Regions from separate parts of the Homo sapiens genome. Here regions 2, 3, 4, 5, 6 and 7 are each linked to region 1. Evidence: promoter capture Hi-C in human tissues and cell types (Jung and others, 2019). All regions are on one chromosome and are shown on one strand. The core of a region is centred on a gene start or on the middle of the fragment in contact, and the rest is flanking DNA. Distances in the headings are between cores, read along the strand shown.

Evidence for each region. Contacts are between HindIII fragments. The study calls those that stand out against the background at their distance.
Region 2: a fragment that was not itself captured here is called in contact with the fragment with the promoter of SNRPB in region 1 in 4 of the 25 tissues and cell types used here (dorsolateral prefrontal cortex, heart left ventricle, liver and 1 more).
Region 3: a fragment that was not itself captured here is called in contact with the fragment with the promoter of SNRPB in region 1 in 2 of the 25 tissues and cell types used here (IMR-90 fibroblasts and dorsolateral prefrontal cortex).
Region 4: the fragment with the promoter of FASTKD5 here is called in contact with the fragment with the promoter of SNRPB in region 1 in 1 of the 25 tissues and cell types used here (heart left ventricle).
Region 5: a fragment that was not itself captured here is called in contact with the fragment with the promoter of SNRPB in region 1 in 3 of the 25 tissues and cell types used here (liver, lymphoblastoid cells and mesenchymal stem cells).
Region 6: a fragment that was not itself captured here is called in contact with the fragment with the promoter of SNRPB in region 1 in 1 of the 25 tissues and cell types used here (lymphoblastoid cells).
Region 7: a contact is called between the fragment with the promoter of GNRH2 here and the fragment with the promoter of SNRPB in region 1, in 1 of the 25 tissues and cell types used here (thymus).

Annotation. Positions count from the first base shown.
Region 1 is chr20:2,469,152-2,472,259 of GRCh38, reverse strand. SNRPB (small nuclear ribonucleoprotein polypeptides B and B1) reads left to right here and starts at 1,471. Exons shown (of 7, transcript NM_003091.4): 1 at 1,471-1,572. The coding sequence starts at 1,570. RefSeq lists enhancers at 1,462-1,511, 1,522-1,571, 1,732-1,851. The HindIII fragment of the contact is 7,557 bases long and covers 1-3,108 here.
Region 2 is chr20:1,760,374-1,763,481 of GRCh38, reverse strand. No RefSeq gene overlaps it. Among named protein-coding and RNA genes, the nearest start is that of SIRPG, 100 kb to the right of the region's middle. The HindIII fragment of the contact is 4,174 bases long and covers 1-3,108 here.
Region 3 is chr20:1,786,132-1,789,239 of GRCh38, reverse strand. No RefSeq gene overlaps it. Among named protein-coding and RNA genes, the nearest start is that of SIRPA, 110 kb to the left of the region's middle. The HindIII fragment of the contact is 9,616 bases long and covers 1-3,108 here.
Region 4 is chr20:3,158,213-3,161,320 of GRCh38, reverse strand. It overlaps FASTKD5 (FAST kinase domains 5), which reads left to right and starts at 1,456. Exons shown (of 2, transcript NM_021826.5): 1 at 1,456-1,555. UBOX5 (U-box domain containing 5) reads left to right here and starts at 1,456. Exons shown (of 5, transcript NM_014948.4): 1 at 1,456-1,555. The HindIII fragment of the contact is 11,638 bases long and covers 1-3,108 here.
Region 5 is chr20:1,811,025-1,814,132 of GRCh38, reverse strand. No RefSeq gene overlaps it. Among named protein-coding and RNA genes, the nearest start is that of SIRPA, 83 kb to the left of the region's middle. The HindIII fragment of the contact is 6,291 bases long and covers 1-3,108 here.
Region 6 is chr20:1,871,859-1,874,966 of GRCh38, reverse strand. LOC124904857 (a long non-coding RNA gene) reads left to right here. Exons shown (of 3, transcript XR_007067496.1): 2 at 1,920-2,000; 3 at 2,781-3,108. Among named protein-coding and RNA genes, the nearest start is that of SIRPA, 22 kb to the left of the region's middle. The HindIII fragment of the contact is 5,779 bases long and covers 1-3,108 here.
Region 7 is chr20:3,042,188-3,045,295 of GRCh38, reverse strand. It overlaps GNRH2 (gonadotropin releasing hormone 2), which reads right to left and starts at 1,674. Exons shown (of 4, transcript NM_178331.2): 1 at 1,631-1,674; 2 at 728-888; 3 at 460-596. The coding sequence starts at 881. The HindIII fragment of the contact is 17,170 bases long and covers 1-3,108 here.

The DNA.
Region 1 (3,108 bases), core at 222-2,721:
GTTACGGGCTCGTTCAATGATCCAAGACAGAGACGATGGTGGCTATGACTAGAGTGGACGCAATGGAGTGGGTGACAACAATCATATTCAAGATAATTTGAAGGTGGGGGCCACAGGATTTGCTGATGAATTTGATTATTCGATGGCAGAGAAAGAGAAGAATGAAATATGCTTCAAATTTGTCATTTTCTTTTTTTTCTTTTTTAATCCAAGAAACTTCGGGGATGGGGAACACTGGTGAAGTGGTTTTAGAAACAGTGAATAGAATCAAGAATTCAGTTTTCAACATGTTAAATTTGGTATACCTATTAGACATTCACATCACGCTGGCAGCTGGATATAAAGGGCCAAGAGTTAAATGAAGAGACCAAGGTTAGAGGAACAAACTTGAAAGCCTTGGGTGTATATGCTGTATTTAAAAGTCATAGGAAGGGCCCAGTGTGATGGTTCACGCCTGTAATTCCAGCACTTTGGGAGGCCAAAGTGGGTGGATCAGGAGTTCGAGACCAGGAGTTGAGGTCAGGAGTTCGAGACCAGCCTGGCCAACATGGCAAAACCCCGTCTCTACTAAAAATACAAAAATTAGCCGAGTGTGGTGGCACAGGCCTGTATTCCCAGCTACTCGGGAGGCTGAGGCAGGAGAATCGCTTGAACCGGGGAGGCAGAGGTTGCAGTGAGCCGAGATTGTGCCACTGCACTCCAGCCTTGGTGACAGACTGAGACTCTGTCTCAAAAGAAAAAAAAAAGTCATAGAAAAAAAATAAATGTCATACGACTGGATGCGATTATCAGCAAATATGGGTAGAGCCCTTATTTTGTGCTAAAGTGTTCTAGGCACTACAGCAATGAGTAATACACAAAGAGAAAAATTCACACCCTTATGGATCTTACATTCTAATGGGGAGGGGATAATAAAATAACTAACAAAAATATACAGCGTGTTAGATAGCAAGAGGGAAATACAGGAGAGATGAGGATGAGGTGGGTGGGAAGGTTACAGGATGGCTAGGGAAATCCTCACTGGGAAAATGTTATTTAAGCTTAAACCTTGAAAGAGGTGAGGGCAGCAGCCTTCTGGTATACCTTGGGGACTACCATTCCAGGCAGAGGCGAAAGCAAATGCAGAGGGGCTGAAAAAGGAGCACGTCCAGCCAGTGGAGGGAAAAGCAAGAATAGTGACTGTAGAGGAGAGAGCCGGGGAGGGTGATGGGAAATGAGGACCGAGAGGTTAATGGGAAAGGCGGGGTGAAGAGAAATGAGTGTGACACAGAGCAGCTCTCAGTACGGATTTAAGCTAGGAAGGTGTCCAAACAGGAACTTAAGGCTCTCCTTACGTCAAAGCCGGATGTTAACGCCCAGTCCCCAGGCCCCGCCTCTGCTCGGCAGAAGCTCCGCTCCGGGGCCGGAACTCCAGGGCTAGTGAGCTGGACCGGAAGTAGGTTTCTACCCGACCGCATTTTACGTGGTGCTGCATTTCCGGTAGCGGCGGCGGGAAATCGGCTGTGGGAGAGAGGCTAGGCCTCTGAGGAGGCGAATCCGGCGGGTATCAGAGCCATCAGAACCGCCACCATGGTAAGGAGGGCACAGGCTGGCGGCGCGGGAGCTTCCGAGTCTGTTGTGGAGTGGGAACCGCGACTGATCGGGGAGGAAGCCGTGGGTTGGAGCCACTTAGGGCGGTGAAGGCCTGGGCCGAGGCCGCTCGGTCTGGGCGGGAAAGACCAGGACCTTGGCGGTTCGGCTAGGCATGGGGTCGAGGAAAAGGTTGGAACCGGTGTCGGAGGCCGAGGTCGCTCGGCAGGGGCGAGGGTAGAACCGCGGCTCTCGACACCGCTGTAGCCATAATTCCTGGGACCCAGTAGGCACTAAGTTAACTTTTGCCGAATAAATATATGTCCCGGGCTTCGGAGCAGGCACTGGAGCCGCAGGGGGACCCGGTAAAAGGCTCAGACTTGCGGAAGTTTGTGAGTCTGAGAAAGAGTTGGCGGAAGTGGGTGGAAGGGGCTCGTGGACCACGCTAGAGTCTCGCTAGGTCTGCTGGATGGAGAGGAGGGCGGAGGAGGGTGATGGCGAATGGAGGAAGAGCTCCACTCAGTTGCTCATCACGTTTCCGTGTTTGCCTGTGCCTGACTTCTCAGGCGCTGGGGCTACTCTCTGAAATATGTTTGCTTCCTTCACAGAGGTAGCTGGGGACACATAATATAATTCAGTGTGGTCATTCGGTAAAAGTAACGGCAGCGGGGCGGGGTAAGAATGTTTTCTCAAATAGATGGTTCCTGAGCAGATTCCTAAAAGATTAGCAAGAATGTTCCCGGCGAAAATGGGGGGAATATTACAGACCCGGAGAACTGAAGGAACAAAGGCTGAAGGGTAACAAGATTTAAAAAGTTACTGGATTTTTCTGCGTTTGTTGACTGAGAAAAAGTTGCTGGAGGAGAAAGGAAGAAAGAAGGGAAGACGGGAAGAATTGGCAGGAGGCTAGTTACTAAAGGCCTTGCATGTTAATTTTACCTCAGTGGTGGTGAGGCATGTCATTGAAGGATTTAATTTAATTTATTTTTATTTTTTTGAGACGGAGTTTTGCTTTTGTTGCCCAGGCTGGAGTGCGGTGGATCGATCAGGGTTCACTGCAAACTCCACCTCCCGGGTTCAAGCGATTCTCCTGCCTCAGCCTCCCAAGTAGCTGGGATTGTAGGTACCCGCCACCACACTTGGCTAATTTTTTGTATTTTTAGTAGAGACGGGGTTTCACCATGTTGGCCAGACTGGTCTCGAACTCCTGACCTCAGTTAATCCACCCACCTTGGCCTCCCAAAGTGCTGGGATTACAGCCGTGAGCCACCACACCCTGCCCACTGAAGGATTTTAACCAGCAAAATGACATAAGCTTAGTGGTGTTTAGAAAGATTGCTCTAGCTCTGGCATGTATATTCGATGGGACTGGAAGCAGGGAAACCTGGTAGGATATTGTTTGGATAACTGGTTAGAATAGGCGCTGGATTCATTTTGTCTAGGTTCCAACACAGCTTCCCAGCTGTGAAACTGGGCAAGTTACTTAACCTCTCCTAGCCTCAGTGACCTCATCTGTAAAATAGGGATAATAATGGGCCC
Region 2 (3,108 bases), core at 226-2,725, 710 kb after region 1:
GTCTCAAACTCCTGACCTCTAGTGATCCACCATCCTCACCTCCCAAAGTGCTGGGATTACAGGTGTAAGCCACCCCACCTGGCCTTTGTGTGTAACTCCTATAACATTCGTGTAATGATCTAAATTAGTGTTTATCTTTCTCAAAGTTACATGTACACACTAAGAGTCAAATAAATAGTTATATAAGTTTTACATATAAAAATTGGAGTCTCCCTAACATCCAACCATATTCTATCTCCCAGAAGCAACTATTCTCAATTTTTAATAGATTATCTTAGACTTTTACTGCCATATCTCATATAACATGTTCATATTGCCACTTCTTCATTTTTCAGTATTAGGCGTTACTTTTGACTTCCCACAATTACAGATGGTAATATAATGCTCCACCATTGCTGACTTAATGCCACACGTGAACACTTTCTATTCCCCATCAACTGAATATGATTATATCATAATTTGGGATAATTTAAGAGTCGATGTCTATATTGTAATAAGTGTTTGAATATTCTTACTTTCTTTTTTTTTTTTTTTTTTTGAGATGGGGTCTCACTCTGTCGCCCAGGCTAGCGTGCAATGGTGCAATTTTGGCTCACTGCAATCTCTGCCCCCTGGGTTCAAGCAATTCTCCTGCCTCAGCCTCCCTAGTAGCTGGAATTACAGGTGTGCACCACCACGGCTGGCTAATTTTTGTATTTTTAGTAGAGACAGAGTTTCACCATGTTGGCCAGGCTGGTCTCGAACTCCTGACCTCAATTGATCCACCCACCTCAGCCTCCCAAAGTGCTGGGATTACAGACATGAACCTCCCCACCCGGCTGAACATTATTTCCAGCTGGGTCTGGTAATATTCCTAGCTTTTGCTTATGTTCAGTCTCTCCTGTGTATGTTTGTGTAATCACCACTATAGTCAAAATACAGACAATTCCATAACCATAAAGGTCTCCCTGGTGCTACCTCATTATAGTGACACCCACCCTCACCATACTAAGTCTCTGGCAAATGCTAACCTCTTCTATATCTCTGTAATTTTGACAATGTTATATAAATGGGATCATACAGTATGTAACATTTTGAGTTTGATTTTTCACTCAACATAATGCCTTTGAGATCCTTACAAGTTGTTGCATATATAAATAATTTATTTTTTTATTGCTGAGTGTTATTTTATTGTATGGATGCATACTGTTTGTTTAGCCATTCACTTGTAAGACAAGTTTGTCTTACACTGGTTGTTTCCAGTGTTTTGCTGTTACAAATAAATCTGCTACAAACATTTGTGCACGGTTTTTTGTGTGTACATAAGTTTTCATTTTTCTGGGACAAATGCATGGGAGGGCAATTGCTGGTTCATGTAGTATAGTGAGTGTATGCTTAGTTCTTTTTAAGAAGTTGACAACCAGTTTTATAGAGTGGGTGTATTATTTTACATTCCCATTTTCAATGTATTAGATATTCAGTTTCCCCGCATCCTAGCCAGCATTTGATATTGTCACTATGTTTTACTATAACTGTTCTATTAGGTACATAGTAATAATATCTCATTATGATCTTAATTTGCATTTTCCTGATGGTTAGCGATGTAAGCATCTTTTATGTGTTTATTTTCTATCTATATATCCTTGTTGATAAAATGTCTCTTTATGTCTTTCACCCATTGTGATATTGTGAAATATATATTTGGTCTTCAACCCTGTTTCCTGCCAAACAACCCCTAAAATCCTTAGACTCTCCAAAGAGATGTCTTTTTGTGTCTTAATGAATTGACTGATGGCTGGGAGCACCTCCGTAGCTTCAGGATGGCGACTGGTCACCTGAAGAGTAAGTCGATTAAACGATTTAATCAATTATGCCTACATAATGAAGCTTCTGTAAAAACCCAAAAGGACTGGGTTCAGAGAGCTTCTGGACAGCTGAACACATACAAGTTCCTGAAAAGTGCTGCACCTGCGGACGTCATGGAAGCTCCGTGTCCCTTCCCCATTCCTCTCCCTATGCATCTCTTCATCTATATCCTTTATAATAAACTGGCAAACTTAAGTGTTTCCCTGAGTTCTGTGGGCCGCTCTAGCAAATTAATTAAACACAAGGAAGAGGTCGTGAGATCTCTGATTCATAGCCAGTGAGTCAGAAGCACATTCCTTGCAATTGGCATTGGAAGTGGGGAGAAGTTCCATGGGACTGAGTGCTCATCCCCGTGGTGTCTGACGTTACCTCCAGATAGATAGCATCAGATTAGAATTGGATTGAGGACACCCAGCTGGTGTCTGCTGCAGAATTGATTGCTTGCTTGTTGGTGGAGAAGAAATCTCCCACATTTGGTCACAGAAGTCTTCTGTGTTGATTGTTGCTATATGAGTGCAGAGGAAAAACAGTTTGAGTTTTCCCACCTTTACCCACTTGTAATGGAAGTTTTTGTCTTGTTTTGTTGTTTTTAACTGTTGAGTTTTGAGAGAGATATCCTAGATTTGAACCCTTTGTCAGATGGGTGGTTTGCAAATATTTTCACCCGGTCAGTAGCTTTGTTTTCATCCTTAACATGGTATTTTGGAGAGCGAAAGTTTTAAATTTTGATGAAATCCAACTTATCAATTTTTAAAATTGATCATGCTTTTGATGTCAGGTCTAAGAATCTGCCATCGAGCCTTAGATCCTGAAGATTTTCTCCTAAACATTTTATAGTTTTATGTTTTATCTTTGAACCTACGATCTATTTTGAGATAATTTTTGTATAATGTATGGTATGAGGTTTCGGTTGAGGTTCATTTTTTGTTTATGGATATCCAGCACCTTTTGTTGAAAAGACTGTTTCACTTGTGGAATCAATCCTTCCTCCATTGAATTGCTTTTGCTACTTTGAAAAATCAAGTGTCTGTACTTGTACGGGGCTGTTTCCAGGTTTTCTATTTTGTACCATCGATCTATGTGTCTGTTCCTCTGCCAATATCACAAAGTTTTGATTACTACATCTTTATCATGTCTTAAAATCAGGTATATTGATTCCTTCCACTTTATTCTGTTTTGACTCTTTCAGTTCTCTTTTTTTCCCTTTGTTCATATAAATTTAAAAATAGTCATATATATTTACAAAAATATGTCTAGAATTCT
Region 3 (3,108 bases), core at 179-2,678, 680 kb after region 1:
CATATCCCACCCACCTGCCCTTCACACCCCAGTGGAGCCCAACGGTTAGAAATTCAGGCTCTCCTGGTGGTCTTAGGTTCAAATTCTGGTTCTGCTGGGTGGACCTTGATTCACCCTTTGTGTGACCATTTGAGCTTTGATTTTTTTTCCATCTGTAAAATGGAGATAAGAAAATCAGTTTGCACAGGGGGCTGGGTGAAAGGTGCATAAATCTTAGCCAAATGCTTACTGAAGCATATACTACACTGTATTATAATGATCTGTGTAAATGTTCATCTCCATATCTTGAGGGCAGGAACTGATACTGATTCTGATGTATCTCTTTGCCCCTAGCACCCAGTATGGCTTAAAATAGGTATTAAATAAATGTGGAGTAAATGAATAAAAAATGAAATAAATGGATCTTAGAATCCTATTCTCATAATTTGATACATAAAACCTAAGGACCTCATGTCACATAACTGCAAAGTTTGAAGGATCTTAGAGATCAACTTCCGGAGGTGTTCAATCTTTTTGACTATCACCCACACTTAGTAATATACTTTATATTGCCACCTAGTGAGTGCACACACGCGCACACACACACACAAACACGGACGCGCACACACACACACCCCGAAAGTTTCAGTGGACAGTTCTTGCCTTTCCTATGTGGGATAAACTCACATAATTCCTCTTCTTTTCTCTTTCCTCGCCTCACCTCCCCTTCTATCTTCTAACTTTTCCCTTCTCCTCCTTTCCTTCTTTTCTTTCCTCTCTCTTCTATCTTTTCCGTTAAAAAAAATTGCTAGTTTAGGTCCGCTAAATCGATTTCATGCCCCATGAAGGCATTGTGACCTATGGTTTGAAAATCACTTATCTAGTCGAATTAGACTCCTTGTCCAGCATCTCTAACTGGAGTTCTATACTTATACTTCCCTGATGAAAGGAAGTTCCCCCAAAAGATAAACAGTTTTGTTACTGGACAGCATTTATTGTTAGAAAGTTCTTCCTTCTCTTAAGCAGAAATGAGCCTCTTATAACTTCCTTATTGGTCTTAGTTGTTCCTATCTAGCTTGCTGGTCTCTCTGTAAGTTATCAAGCAAATCACCTCATCTCATTGAGTTTTCTTTTCTTCTCCTCTTCCTACAGATGTGCCCCACCTAAGTGCTGACAGCCTAAAAGTCCACCATTAAAGCCATTCTTCGGGTTTAAGGCATTGATCTTCACCATCATCTCCCATTATTATATCTGCTTGCTCTCATGGAGACAGGGGTCACTGGGGCCAGTCCACCTGTAGTGGCTGAAGTCTTCATCTCCTGCAGCAGAGAAGTTTGTTGGGACTATGTAAAATATCAAAAGAGGGTTTCTTTAACCCTTAAATCTCTTTTGCTTGTTTTCTTTCCTCAATGGCTTGGATCTTCCCAGTGAGATGCTCAGTGGGGTTAGCAAATAGCATTTTGGAAATCACAACCAATATTGAAGGGTGAAATGGTATGTTAGCCTTTAACACCTTAGTCTAAATTTTCCCCTGCCAGTCTCTTCCATCACTCTAAGATCAGCCAGGAGAGGGGAATTCTAATGCTAGCCCTCTATAGGGTCTCCTCAGGCAAGAGGCAGTAACCAGCCTTCACTCCAAGGTAAGTGTCAGATTCCTAGGACTGAAAGATTCCCTTGGCCCTATACATCCAAACTCTCTCTTCATTCATTCATCGAACAAGTATTTGTTGAGCATCTTCTGTGTGCTACACCTTGTGCTAGGTGTTGCGGATACCATGGAGACCAAGAGAGTCCCCATTCCTGGCCTCCACGGTGCACGCAGTCTAGCAGTAGTGACAATCACCAATGGTAAGAAGGTGCTCTGCTAAGGTCAGGAGTTGAGGGAGCTTGGAGCAGGGTCTCAGCTCACTGTGTGCTGGAGTCAAGGGAAGGCCTCCTGGGGGCGGACATTTGAGCTGAGACCTGAAGGACAAGGAGCATATGGCTGAGTAGTTCATCTCTCCCTGGCTTCCCTCCTTCTCCCCAGCCCCCAATCCAGGCAGCATCAATGCCCCCATCAAGTCATCTTCCTGAACTCATCTGGGTCACTAGCTTAAATCAGCAGTTCTCAAGTTTTAACTCAGTCAGAATGCTGTTTTGTTTAGTTTGTTTAACTGCAGATTTTAGGACCTCTGTAGGATTCTACATCTGGGGTAGGACTGTGTCTGCATGTCAGTCCATGGCTCATATCTTCGGAAATCCTGGTCTATATCAGAATTCCACGGTTTTGGTATTTGCCCTTGACTATTTGTTCAGCTTCTGAAGGAAAGAGGAAAAGGAAGTTCAGGAATGCCAAGGTTGTCTTTCTGGGATTGCAGAGTCTGGGGAGGCATTGGGAGGGTGGCGTTGGTGACAGCAGGGACTGGGGAGTCCTCAGAGGGGTCCAGCAAGGGCCCTCAGTCCTGGCACCCAACAACCTGAGGGACCTCCCAACAGCCAAATCGTGCTCCTGCCTCACCTCACAGCAGTAGACCAACGGCACATGGTAGCACTGGCCACATAATTAGCAGAGCATGTCCCAGAATAATTAAACGTTTCAAAACAGTAACAGCAGAGCAGTAAATCAAGTGCGGGTTCCTCTCAGAGTGGGGCCCTGTGCAATGCAGGGATCAGATAGCCAGCAGGCTCAGCAGTGGGGTGAGTGGAGCCCCGGCCCAGACTAAAACTCCTGGGTACAGGAAATGAAACCAAGCCTGTGAATATTCAAAGAAGAAGGATCCTTAGAGATCACCTGGCTCAGTTCCCTTCATGTCCAGTTGTAGAACCCAAAGCCCAGAGAGATGGCCCAAGCTGACCCTGCAAATTGGTGGCAGAGCCAGATCAGAATCCCAGCCCTGGGACTCTCCTTCCCCCTCTCCCTCTCCCCCAATCTCTTCTTTCCTGAGGTGGTCTCATCCTATGCAATGTCCATGTGGAAACCATCCACATGTTGACAGCTTGCAAATATCTATCCCCCATCTCCATCACCTATCTCTCCCCCAGCTCCAGAGTCCTGTGTCCAGCCATCCCTAACTGCAGTGGCCTCTTGCTTCCTCTTCTCCCCTGCTTCCTTCCTTACCCACCTCCAGCCTGTCCCTCCTCCAACACACA
Region 4 (3,108 bases), core at 207-2,706, 690 kb before region 1:
TAGGTACCTATACTGACAGCTGTGTCAATATATGTACCCAGTAGGACCCAGCCCTCCTTCTTAGGGTGGTGGAGAATCACCCTGGCTCATGCTCCATAGCTCTGGCCTCGCTAAGCCCCAGCTCCACATCCATTTCTCTCAGCAGGCTCATCTATCCATCATGTCACTAGCTCTTTTCCTGAGAGCACTTTACAGATACATCTCTATTATAAATGCATTAAAAAAAAAAAAAGATGGAGTCTCACTGTTGCCCCGGCTGGAGTGCAGTGGTGCAATCTCGGCTCACTGCAACCTCTACCTCCTGCGTTCAAGTGATTCTCCTGCCTTAGCCTCCCAAGTAGCTGGGGTTACAGGTGCACGCCACCATGCCCCGCTAATTTTTTTTTGTATTTTTAGTAGAGACGAGGTTTCACCATGTTGGCCAGGCCGGTCTCCAACACCGGGGATTACAGGTGTGAGCCACCACACCCGACCAATGCATTGTTAAAATTAGACAGGTGTGGTGGTGCATGCCTGTGGTCTTAGCTACTCAGGAGGCTGAGGCAGGAGGATCACTTGAACCCAGGAGGTTGAGGCTGCAGTGAGCCATGATTGCACCATTGCACCCCAGCCTGGGCAATGGGGCAAGACTTTGTCTCAAAAAAAAAAAAAATGTATTGTTTTTCTCACTGTACAGGCTTAGAGAATTTATGTGGGCCGGGTGCGATGGCTCATACCTGTAATCCCAGTACTTTCGGAGGCTGAGGCGGCAGTATTGCATGAGCCCAGGAGTTCGAGACTAGCCTGGGCAACATAGGAAGACACTGCCATCCCCGTCTCTATGAAAATAATAATAATAATATAACAAGAATGAATTTATGTGACTTCTCCAAGGCCATAAAACCCTGAGTGGTGGTCCTCAGATTTGAACATGTGTCTAAGCTACTTACTTTTTTTTTTTTTTTTTTTTTTTTAGATGGAGTCTCGCTCTGTGTCCCAGAGCTGGAGTACAGGGGTGCCCAGACTGGAGTACAGTGGCGAGATATCGGCTCACTGCAACCTCCGCCTCCCGGGTTCAAGCGACTCTCCTGCTTCCGCTTCCTGAATAGCTGGATTATAGGCGTGCGCCACCACGCCCGGCTAATTTTTGTATTTTTAGTAGAGACGGGGGTTTCACCACGTTAGCCAGGCTGGTCTCGAACTCCTGAACTCAGGTGATCCGCCCGCCTTGGCCTCCCAAAGTACTGGGATTACAGGCGTGAGCCACCGCGCCGGGACTAAGCTGCTTAATGACTTCCAGAGCGATCCATCCAGGAAGGTGTTTTCCCTCTGCAGGTCCTAGACTCCCCCTGCCTCCTCAACAACGTCCTCCAGTGGAAAATGTCCTTGGGAAACGCTGACAGAGTCTTTTGAGCCTCGGCCGCATCCGTCACTCGCGCAGCAGGCGGAAGTAGCGGGCAGTTGGCCGGAAGTGGGGCTGTGAGGCTCGGAGTCGCCGGAGGAGCCAGTATCTGTGTCGCCGCCGCCCGCGGCGTCCCCGGTTTGGTGTTGCGGCGCCCACCTTCGGGAGGATCAGGTGAGTGGCGGCGGCCGGGGAGGAGGTCGCGGCGGCCTCTTTCCGCGTTCACGACCGTCCTGGGCCTTGGCCTGTGCCTCCTGTCCTCCCGGCCGGCCCAGAGCTGGAGCGCATCGAGGCCTTGTTCAGCTCTTGGCCTGGGTTGCCAGTGCCTCTCGCAGGCCTGGCTGTGGTGAGAACTTCAGTGACTCTCGCCGCTCCTGAGTTTGTGATCTTTGGCAGGGGGCTTATCTGACCCTTGATTTTTTTTCCTCTGTGAAATGGAGATCGTAACAGTACTTGTCTCACGGTGCTGTTAAGAGAATGTAGTCAGATATTCTGCCGCGCCTCTCATCACACTTTGATGTGCCTGCGAATCGCTTAGAGATTCTGATTCTGTAGGACTGGGGTGGGTTCTGAGATAACTGTGTTCCTAACTAGATTCCAGACGAGGCTGAAGCCTCTGGCACGCAGACCACACACTGAGTAGCAAGGCCCTACAGTATGTTGCTTAGCATTTGGGATGCGGAGTCTTCGGTAAACATCAGTATGATAGGATATATACCTTCCCCCCATTTTTAGCAGTTTCTCGTTGCACAAGCCTAAGGGTAGTATTGATGGCCTTCTCCCTTTTTCTTTCCGTGGGTAAGAATAGTTGCTCTTTCTCTTTCTGTGCAAACCGTGACACAGCTCTTCTGTCTTGACTCAGGGAACTTTGGGTCCCCTCATATCAGCTGTGTTCATCAGTCTTGGGTGATGCTTCACTGATCAGACCCTTGGACAGTGCTTCATCCTGTGGAGCTGATAGCCAGCTGCGTTAGCACCAACTGTGGCTGGCGTTTTGTGCTCCAGTCATTTGTTGCTGCTGGAATCTGAATTCACGTTTTCTACACTTTGTGAATAGTAAGAATGGCTGCCTTTCCAGAACTAGATTCTGTAGCTCACTGACCTGAATGGTCCTGGGCAAGTCCTTGGATAGTTTGCTACTACCTGGTAGACTAAAATAAAATCTGGGCCGGACACAGTGGCTCACGCCTGTAATCCCAGCACTTTGGGAGGTCAAGGCGGGCGGATCACGAGGTCAGGAGATCGAGACCATCTTGGCTAATATGGTGAAACCCCGTCTCTACTAAAAATACAAAAAAATAGCTGGGCGTGGTGGCGGGCGCCTGTAGTCCCAGCTACTCTGGAGGCTGAGGCAGGAGCGTGGCGTGAACCCCGGGAGGCGGAGTGTGCAGTGAGCCGAGATCGCGCCACTGCACTCCAGCCTGGGCGAGAGAGCGAGAGTCCGTCTCAAATAAATGAATAAATAAATAAATAAATAAGTAAATAAAATCTGAAGACTCTGTGCTGCATAACATAACTTAAAAAGTGAGGCCTTTGGCAGTTATGCAGGTCTAATGTTTATTAGTCAGTATGATTTTCTTCCCCATCCATTGGTTTATTTTTTTAGTCCCTAATAAGGCCTTGCCATTCATCATGTGAATAAGTCAACTTTGATATAAAATAATTCTAAGGTCAGGTGCGGTGGCTCATGCCTGTAATCCCAGCACTTTGGGAGGCCGAAGTGGAAG
Region 5 (3,108 bases), core at 264-2,763, 660 kb after region 1:
GGGCTGGCAGGTGGGCTTGGGGGTTGGACTTGCTGGTTCTGATTCAGAAAAACAAAAGAAGAAAAGGGAATAAAGTCATCAATCCACAAAGCCTTCAAGAACTTTTATAATAATGGAAAATGACTTCTCTTGCATTTTTCATAAAATGAGTACAAATAATAACTGCTATTGATTGAACCCCCACTCAGAGCCAGGGGCTGTGCTGGGTGTGTCTTAGACATTGCCTCCAATTCCCTAATCCTCCCAACAGCCACGCATGGCCCTACCTCAGGGCCTTTGCCCTTGATGTCTCCTCCGACTGGGAAGGTTCTTCCTTCAGACACCCACATGGCTAACTCCCCTACATCTTTCAAAGCTCCACTTAAATGTCAGCTCCCCAGAGAGGCCTTCCCTGACCACCACTCCCTGAAATAATGTCCTCCACATTCTTGACCTCCTTCCCTTGCTTTTTCTTTCATCACCTGATATACGTATATTTGTTAATTGTCTATTTCTCCCTTTTAGATTTTAAGCTCCCAAGGGCAAGGATTTTTGTTTCATTCACTGTGGCCTCCCCAGCACTCAAAACAATGCTTGACACAGGACAGAGTTCTTTTTTCTTTTTTGAGATGGAGTCTGGCTCACTTGCCCAGGCTGAAGTGCAGTGGCACGATCTTGGCTCACTATAACCTCTGTCTCCTGGGTTCAAGCGATTCTCCTGTCACAGCCTCTGGAATAGCTGGGATTACAAGTGCACGCCACCATGTCCAGCTATTTTTTTTTCTTTTTTGGGGGGGTATTTTTAGTAGAGATGTGATTTCATCATATTGGCCGGGCTGGTATCCAACTCCTGACCTCAGTGACCCGCCTGCATCGGCCTCCTGAAGTGCTGGGATTACAGGCATGAGCCACCGTGCCTGGCCCAGAGTTCTATAAATATTTGTTCAATGGGTGGGTGATTCATCAGTGGGTCTCATTAAAAAATGTGCAGAAGAGTGTTAGGGAGATAAAATCTCTTTCCCAGGCATTACACAGCCAGCAAAGAGCAAGCTGAGATTTGAATTCAGCTCTGTCTAATTCTAAAGCTCTGCTCTTTTCATTAAGGACTTTGTTTTTCTTCTCCAAAGAACTTATTACCACTTACATATTATTATTATTATTTTTGAGACGAAGTCTTGCTCTGTTGCCCAGGCTGGAGTGCAGTGGCATGATCTCGGCTCACTGCAACCTCCGCCTCCCAGGTTCAAGTGATTATCATGCCTCAGCCTCCCGAGTAGCTGGGATTACAGGCATGTGCCACCACGCCCTTGTATTTTTAGTAGAGATGGGGTTTCACCATGTTGGTTAGGCTGGTCTCGAACTCCTGACCTCAGGTGATCCAACACCCCCCCCCCCACCCCTCGGCCTCCCGAAGTGTCAGGATTACAGGCGTGAGCCACCACGCCCAGCCCACTTACTTATTATTTATCTATTCATGTGTTTAATGTCTGTCCTTCCCACTACAATGGCAGCTCCACTGAGGGCAGAGTTCATCTGTTCTGTTCACAGCTGAATCCCCAGCCCCAAAACAGTACCTGGCACCCAGGAAATGCTTTATAAATATACGCTGAATGAAGGAAAGAAGGTCTGGGATATGGGAGGCTGGAGGTGTTCACACCCTTGCTGGGTCTCTGACTGGGTGAGACGGTGGGGAGCTCCAAGATGTTTTCCACTTCCCCAACCCCTCCCACATACAGACTTCTTATTCACTCTTGGAAGCAATGCTGCAAGGGAAGTATTATCCAAACCATTTTACAGATGGGGAAATTGAGGCTCAATCAGAGAAATGATTTGCCTTTCTCAAGGTCACCCAGCTAGTAAGTGTCAGAGCTGGGATTTAAACCTAGGTCTCCAGAGTTCACTTGTCATGCAAAAGGGACCCTTAATGCTTGCTAGCTCTGCCCACCCAAAGGCAATAGCTAGAAGGTCCAGAAGGTCCAGTCACAATCTATGCATTTCCCCATCAAGGTCAGGGGTGTCAGGACCAATGTGAAACTCATGCTTAATTCACAACTCCCAGCTTTGTCCATTTAAATGAAAACTTTCATGTTATTTTAACCAAAATCCCCTGTCGACTTCAATGAAAGCTTTGAATCCATGAGGAAGGTCAGAAAGGGTTTTTTGGAGGTAGCACAGGCGCCCAGTGGAAATCATATTAGCATATTCATTATCATCAGGGCCCTTTGAATGTGTTTTTGAGCTGTTCCCTTCAAGTGACTGGAGACAATGGCTCCTTTCTGTTCACAAATTCCTGGGCTTGAAGTGGGCTGTGGCCAGCTCCTGTGTGCTTCTCTGCACTTTCCAAATGGTCACAGGGAACCCGTGTCGCATAAGGTAACAGGGAGGATGTCATCCACCAGGAGTGCTGGTGGTGAATGAGGCTCTTTGTCTGGGTTTGGAAGAAATATCTCCTCAAGTCACTTAGGCAGCTATGGTGGACCCCAAAGATGGGCTCAGGTAACAAAATATGTTGTTAAACTGTCTTCTAAGGAGGCTGGACCCTATTAACAGGAGATCCCTGAGTGTGGCAGAGTCAGGGCTGGGTCTGGGGTAACAAGGTAGTTGCTCAACTCTAGAAAGTGCCAGGATCACCCAGGGAGCATTTAGCAACCATCAGTGCCCAGCACCACCTCACCAGGCCATCTGGACCCAAATCTTGGCGAGTAGGGGAGTAAACAGGCATCAAAGGTTTGTAAGTGTCCCCAGATGCAGACAGGCAGCTAGTAAGCAGAGCAGAATGGCTCTCTCCTCGAATCAGAGGGGAGGAGAAAAGAGAAGTTGTGGGTGGGGTATGGTGGGGAGGGAGGGCTACAGGAAATCCTCTGGGCATGTGTCGGGAAAAGAGAACTTCAGGGGAAAAACACTCTTTTTTTTTTTTCTCTCTCTAAAGAAAATTCTCAAACTACAGGAAGTGGAGAGAACAGTACAGTGACCCTACACGCTTGTTACCAGCCTCACCTGTCACCCACATGGAGTCCTTCCCATTTGTGGGGTTTCCAGGTGTGTGCCTGTCCCAGGGAGGCCACGTGCCCCTGCTGCCCCAGAACCTTCCTTCTGTAAAGCCCACGCTGCTCTCCAGTGATTCTGACA
Region 6 (3,108 bases), core at 220-2,719, 600 kb after region 1:
TGCGGTGTGTGTGTGCTTGTGTGGTGTGTGTGTGTGTGTGTGTTGTAGAGTGACTCAGAGTGGACTCTGCACCTCTGCGAGAGGGAATTCTATCATGGAAATAGTTTGGTGGCCCTCGGAGGCACAGGGTCATGCAGCAAGCTGGCACTAGAATATTTCAAGCTCGCAGTAATGAAAGCAAATGGCAATTTGGCGTGTCTTCAGGCTTGAAAGCCGCAGAGCAGTGTTCAGTCATCAGCGGCGGTTATCACCCACCGATAATGGAGGCTGCTGCTCGGGGCCCGGTGAGGGAGAGGAGGGTTCAGAGAGGTTAAGTGACTTGCCCAGCATCACATGGCCGGTAATGGGAGGGCAAAGTCCAAGGTGCAGAGTTTGGCCTTTCCCCCTCCCCCAAGGCCAGGCCGCTCCCCAGAATGGATCATCTCTGAGCATTTTCTGAGTGCTGGTTTCCATAGCAGCAAGGCCGTTCCTGCACAATGGATCCCCATCTTTCCCCAGCTTTGCTGCTGTGGGGGCTGCAGGGGTGGGGATGCTTGGTCTTGGGGACTGCTGGGGTGCCAGTAGGAAGGAGCTGGACAGGCCATTTGGATGATCTTGGGGCCTCCAGCCTTTACAGAAGGGCCACACCTGTTCAGTGTTTTCCATTTCAGCTCTGGAGTTGGGTCCACTTCCAGGTAGAGGGTAGGGAGAGAGAGGACAGAGAATGAAATAGGAAAAACACCAGAAACAGAGAATGGGAAAGTCAGAGACAAAATAAATTTTACAAAAGCCAAGACAGAGAAAAGGTGTTTGCTTTCCAGACAAATTATTTCATTTCATCTTTACAACCTTGGGAGGTAGTTTCTGTTTACTCCAAATTGACAGATGAGGAAACTGAGGGCAAATGCAGTGCTTCTCAAAGTATAGTTCAAGAGCCAGCCTGGGAGGTCACAGGGTGAAAGGTTTTGGAGAGGACAGTGGTTAAAATGCAGATTCTCTCACCCCATCCTGGACCTATAGAATCTGATTCTCTCCGGTGGAACCAGGACTCTGCATTTAGCCAGTTCCCCAGGAGAAATTTCTATGAAGTTTGAGAGTATCCACAGTCAGGAGGGTTGCCCTGTGCTATGCTGAAGTTTATGCAGCACATAAACTCAGAGCCAGGATTTAGGACCCAGAAGGGACCAAGATAGAGAGGAAAGTGACAAAGAGAAGCTTATATGCCTCAGAAGAGATGGCAAAGAGCAAGAGAGAGAAATAAGACTGACAGAGAGACACATTGGGAGAAGTCCTCTGAGCTAAGAGAAGGAGGAATCTGGTAGGACCAGCGTGTACTTTTATGGATTATGGATTGCCTATCACTGTAAACACAGCCCTCACTTAATCCTCACAGCAGTCTGATGAGGTAGGTCCTATTGCTCCCATTTTCTGGATAAGGAAACTGAGGCAAGGAGAACAAAGGGGAAGAGCCTAGCTTTGACCCCTGGTGGCCTGGCTTTGGAAGGGGTCACAGCTTTAACCACCAGGCTAGGCTGCCTCCTAAGCAGAAAGCTCAGGGACTCAGACTTAGACTCCAAATTTTTCTCCATCGCCCTACCTGTGTGACTCTGGGAAGCTTTCTGTGCCTCAGTTGCCTCACCTGCAAAATGGTGATAACAATACCTGTGTCAAGGAGTTCCTGTGGGGCCTTGTCTGAGACGGTACAAGAGCGCAGAGCAGTACCTAGTGCTAGAAGTGCTCCGTAACAGTTAGCTGTCAGTAAATACCTAGAAAGTCCAGGAAGCACATAAAAGTTTCTCACAAATGGTGGGTTTCTTGAGGCCTCTTTGCCCTGAACTGGGGCAAAGGATGGTGTCTTAGTCCATGTTATGCTGCTATAACAGGATGCTGCAGACTGGGTAATTTATAATGAATAGAAATTTATCTGGCTATGATTCTAGAGACTGGGAAGTCCAAGAGCATGGAGCTGGCATCTGGAGAGGGCCCTTGGGCTGCATCATCCCATAGTGGAAGGCAAAAGGGTAAGAGATTGTGCAAGAGAGAACAAGAGGGAAGGGTGCTGAGCTCATCCTTTTACCAAGAACCCAATCCCACGATAACCAACCCACTCCCATGATAATGGCATTAATCATTCCTTAAAGGTCCTACATGTCACCACTCTTGCACTGGGGATTACATGTCCAATATGTGAACTCTGGGGGATACATTCAAAACTTAGCAGAGGGGAAGAGGCTCCCAGTGAGTCTTGCTCTTCTCTGAGTCTAGAGCAAACCTACCAAACACAGAATCATTGATGACACAGAGACAATGGCCCGACTCATGGCCCTATCTGCCACTCTAAGCCATTGGACTCCTGTGAGCCTCACCAGGTTACACAGGGAAGCCCCAACCTGTGACTCACAAGAGCTCACTCCCAAGTCTGCTCTGCCAGATGCTACGGTGGCTCTGGTTGTCACTATTATGTGGACTATTATGTCTACTGTGCACCTGCCAGATATCCTCTGGGTACATTGGTGCCATACCTTCACCCTGTGACTGGGGCGCAGGAGCCCTGGGGATGCCCCACTCACCCTTCCAGGCAAGAATGAGTCCTCCCATTTTACAGATGAGGTAACAGAGGCTCAGAGAGGCAAAGTGATGGGCTGTGGGACACACATCTGGAAAATGGTACAGTCAGCACATACACACGCACACATCTGGCTGTGCTCTGGTTGCCTCTAACAAGCATTTATTGAGCCCCTGCTGTATACCGAGCATTTGTGATATTTGTGAGCATAGTCATTACCTACATCCTCTCATAGGCTGGAGGCAGCGTAAGAGGAAGGAGATCCTCCTACATGGCGTGATGGGTGCAGCAGCAGCAGCAGGTGACACTCATGCAATGTGCCAGGCACACACCCAAGGATGTCTCATCACTCCATGCCACAGCCCTGTGGTCACGTGGTGAACATAGCTTGGGTGGTGATGAGCAGCCAGCCTTGGTCCAGCCCCTGTTCTCAAGTGTGGGTGGTCTTGGGTTGACTGGGGTTGGGGGGAGGTTAGGAAACAAGCCCTGTGACCATTGGACCTTTCTCAGGTAGTGGTGGGCGGTGTGAGCTTTATGTCTTTGCTCTCAGGACAACACAGAGC
Region 7 (3,108 bases), core at 425-2,924, 570 kb before region 1:
GCTCTGCAGTCCCTGAGATGTTCCTAGTGCACATGTCAGTCACCACCTGGTCCTCTTGGCCCTGTTGTCTGTTTGAGTGAGGTTGCATCCCTCACCTCTTTCCACTGGCCTGGGGTCTGTCCACCTCAAGACAGTCATTGGCTTGTCAGGATGCCTGTGGGATCCCATGGCCACCACTGTCTTATAGAACAATTATCTCCTTCTAGTCTACTAGTGACTTTGGTCTTTAACCCAAGTGCTTTGTAAATTGTCTAGAATCCTCCTGGGAAATAGGAAGGATAGCAGACAGCACCCTGCTGTGTGCAGTAGGGGCACTGAGAAATGGCTGGGGGTGCTGTGGCAGGGGGCATCTCAGTGGTGTTTCATTCTCCCCACCCTCCCAGCACCCAACCCTAAGCCACAATGGCCTCTGATGACCAGTGGCTGGTCTTGATGCTGGGGACCTCTCACCCTACTCACCAGCAGTGTCCGTGCCAGGTGTCGCTTCCTGTGAAGGGACCACTGGGCCGTGGTCCTGCCCTCCCAGGGCATGCTGTCGTCCAGGGGAGCCAGGGCATCACTTGGGAGGCCATGGGCAGTCTGGACTGGGCTGCCTGCTGCAGTGTCCAGGGCCCTTCCTTAGAAGGGAACTGATGCTGTCCTCCCTACCCCGACCTCAGGCTCCAGGAGGGTGGGGGAGCCCCCGGCCATCACTTTCTTCCTCCCCATGAGGCTGGGAGACACCCACCTGGGGGCCTAAGGGCATTCTGGGGATCCTGGGCTGAGCTGAGGGCTCGCTTTCCTCCAGGGTACCAGCCATGGGACCAGTGCTGAGCCTCTGAGGGTCCAAGGTGGGCAGTCAGCAGCAGCAGGAGCAGGAGGCCTCGCCTGGAGCTGGCCATGGCTGCTCTAATGGACAGGGTACAGCATTCAAGGAGACTTACCTCACCCCCACATCCCCCTACTTCCTCCAGGGCCACTTTGGAAAACTGGCATCTCAGGGGCAGCTTTGGTATCTCCTTATGCCCTTCCCTCTCTGCCACCGCTCCTCATCCCAAGCATACAGGGGTCCAGATCCTGGGGGATCCTGGCCCAGCAGGGGATGATGCTCCAGGGGACGAGCCTTCTCCCTGAGCCTGGGGCACAGAGGCTACCTGCCTTGCCAGCTCTGAGGGCCCTCCCACTTGTCCAGGTCCATCCATCTTTCCTTCAAGGAGTTTCCAGAAGTGGAAGAAAGTTGGAGGGGAACAGAGACCTGAATTCAGGCCAATGGATGGGAGGATAGATGGATGGTCAGGGGAGTTCTCAATGTAGGCGTGTTTGGAGCACCAGTGCTAGGGAACCAGAGTTGCAGGCCTTCTGCCCTTTTCTCCGTGGCCTGCTGTATCTCTTCCATAGTAGTTGGGGATGTGGAATGGATGAGTGGTATTGATGGGGGCAAGTGCTTCTACCCCTTATCCCTCCCATGCCAGGGGCAACAAGCACAAGAATAGATGGTAGAGCTGTTGGGGAGAGGAGAGGAAAAGGGGACTTCTCTGGCATGGTTCAGGGGTGGAGGCACCTGGGAATGGGGAAGAGGAGCAGCACACCATACGCCCAGGATGAAACTTGGTCCAGGTGTCCTAGCCCTTAGGGAAGGCTCCCCACTCACCAAGGAAGAGCTGTGGATGAGATGGCTCCTTCAGGCAGCTGCAGGACCCTAGCCTGATGGCCCCAGGATTTATAGACCAGGCAGCTCCACCCCCAGACTCCAGTGACGTCTTCAGAGGGGAAGAGAGAAGCTCACCACCCAACCCGCTTCCCAGAGCATCCAGTCCATGAACATTCACCAGGCAGCTGCTGCCCTGAGGCCACCGACACATGCTCCCTCCCCACCACCTTCCCAGGAGCCTTCAGGCCCAGGACTCTTGCTTTAGGCTGGCCTATGTCCTGGTCTCACCTTCCCACTTCCCAGGCTGCATCTTCAAGCTCCTGATCTTGAGACCTAGAAAGCCCTCACAGCCTTCCCTGATCCCAAAAGAGAATTGTGTCCTGGGCAGGGGCAATGCCTGGGGGCTCCCCAACTCCCAGCTCAGGGCTTTCCCTGGTGGACAGTGGAAGCCTAAGAGTAGGGAGCCTGGCAGGCTGTTCAGAGGTACAGGGGAGGCTGTGACCACTCTCCCAGAGGGCTTCCGTTTGCTCACTGTAGAGTGGGTTGGGTGGGACAATTCACATCCACACACCTGGGAACCAGGGCTGGGTCACTCCAGATGGCTGGGTTTGGGTGGGGCAGTACCTACCCCGGAGTGGCTTCTCTCCTGGCGAAGAAGCGGGCCCATGAGATGGGGCCCAGCTGTTGGGCCAGTGCAGTCTCCCTAGGTAGGTAGAATAATTTTGTCCCTCAAGGCTCTAACCCCTCCCCAGTCATGGATTTGGACACAGCTAGCCTGGGCTGCTGGAAGTGGGCTCTTGCTTCCCAGTCTGCGTCAGCAGCTCAGCTTTCCTTGGCCAGCCATCAGCCTCTGGGGGTCAGAGGCCTGTTTACAGGGTTCATAGCCAATCTCCGCACTTGGGCTGAACAGCAAATGGGAGGGCCAGGGTCATTTGGAGAGCTGGTGCGTCAAATCCTGTGACAAAGATGGGGGAGGGGAGGCATAATGGGCATCAGTCAGCCCTAGACACCTGGACTTCAGCAGCCAAGGCAGGATGGGCACACCTGTGAACTTCCAGACTGACTTATTAGCAGGGACCGGAAATCAACGTGTGGCCCATTTGTTCAGTTAAATTGTTTTGGCTTAAATATGCGGACTTTGTTAACTGGGTGATTTTTAGGGAAACATTTGCTTGTGGTTTAGTGAAAATGAATCTGAGTTCGACGTACTAGTTTAGTTCTGGTTGGGGTTTACAGAATGCTTTCTTCAAAGATGCACCAAGGCTGGTGTACCTTTAAAAGGGGGATGGTTGCCTTTATTTATTCTGTAATTTGATTCCGGCTTTTCCTGAAAAATCTAAACCAGAGCCAAGCTTCCTGGGGAAAGCTCTGCTCCCTTTTTTTTCCGGCAACATACTTAGCTTTTAAGAAATGTTTGGTCCTTTCCAGACTAGAACTGTGGAACTCTTGTATCCCTCTCATTAGAACATAGAAAGCCA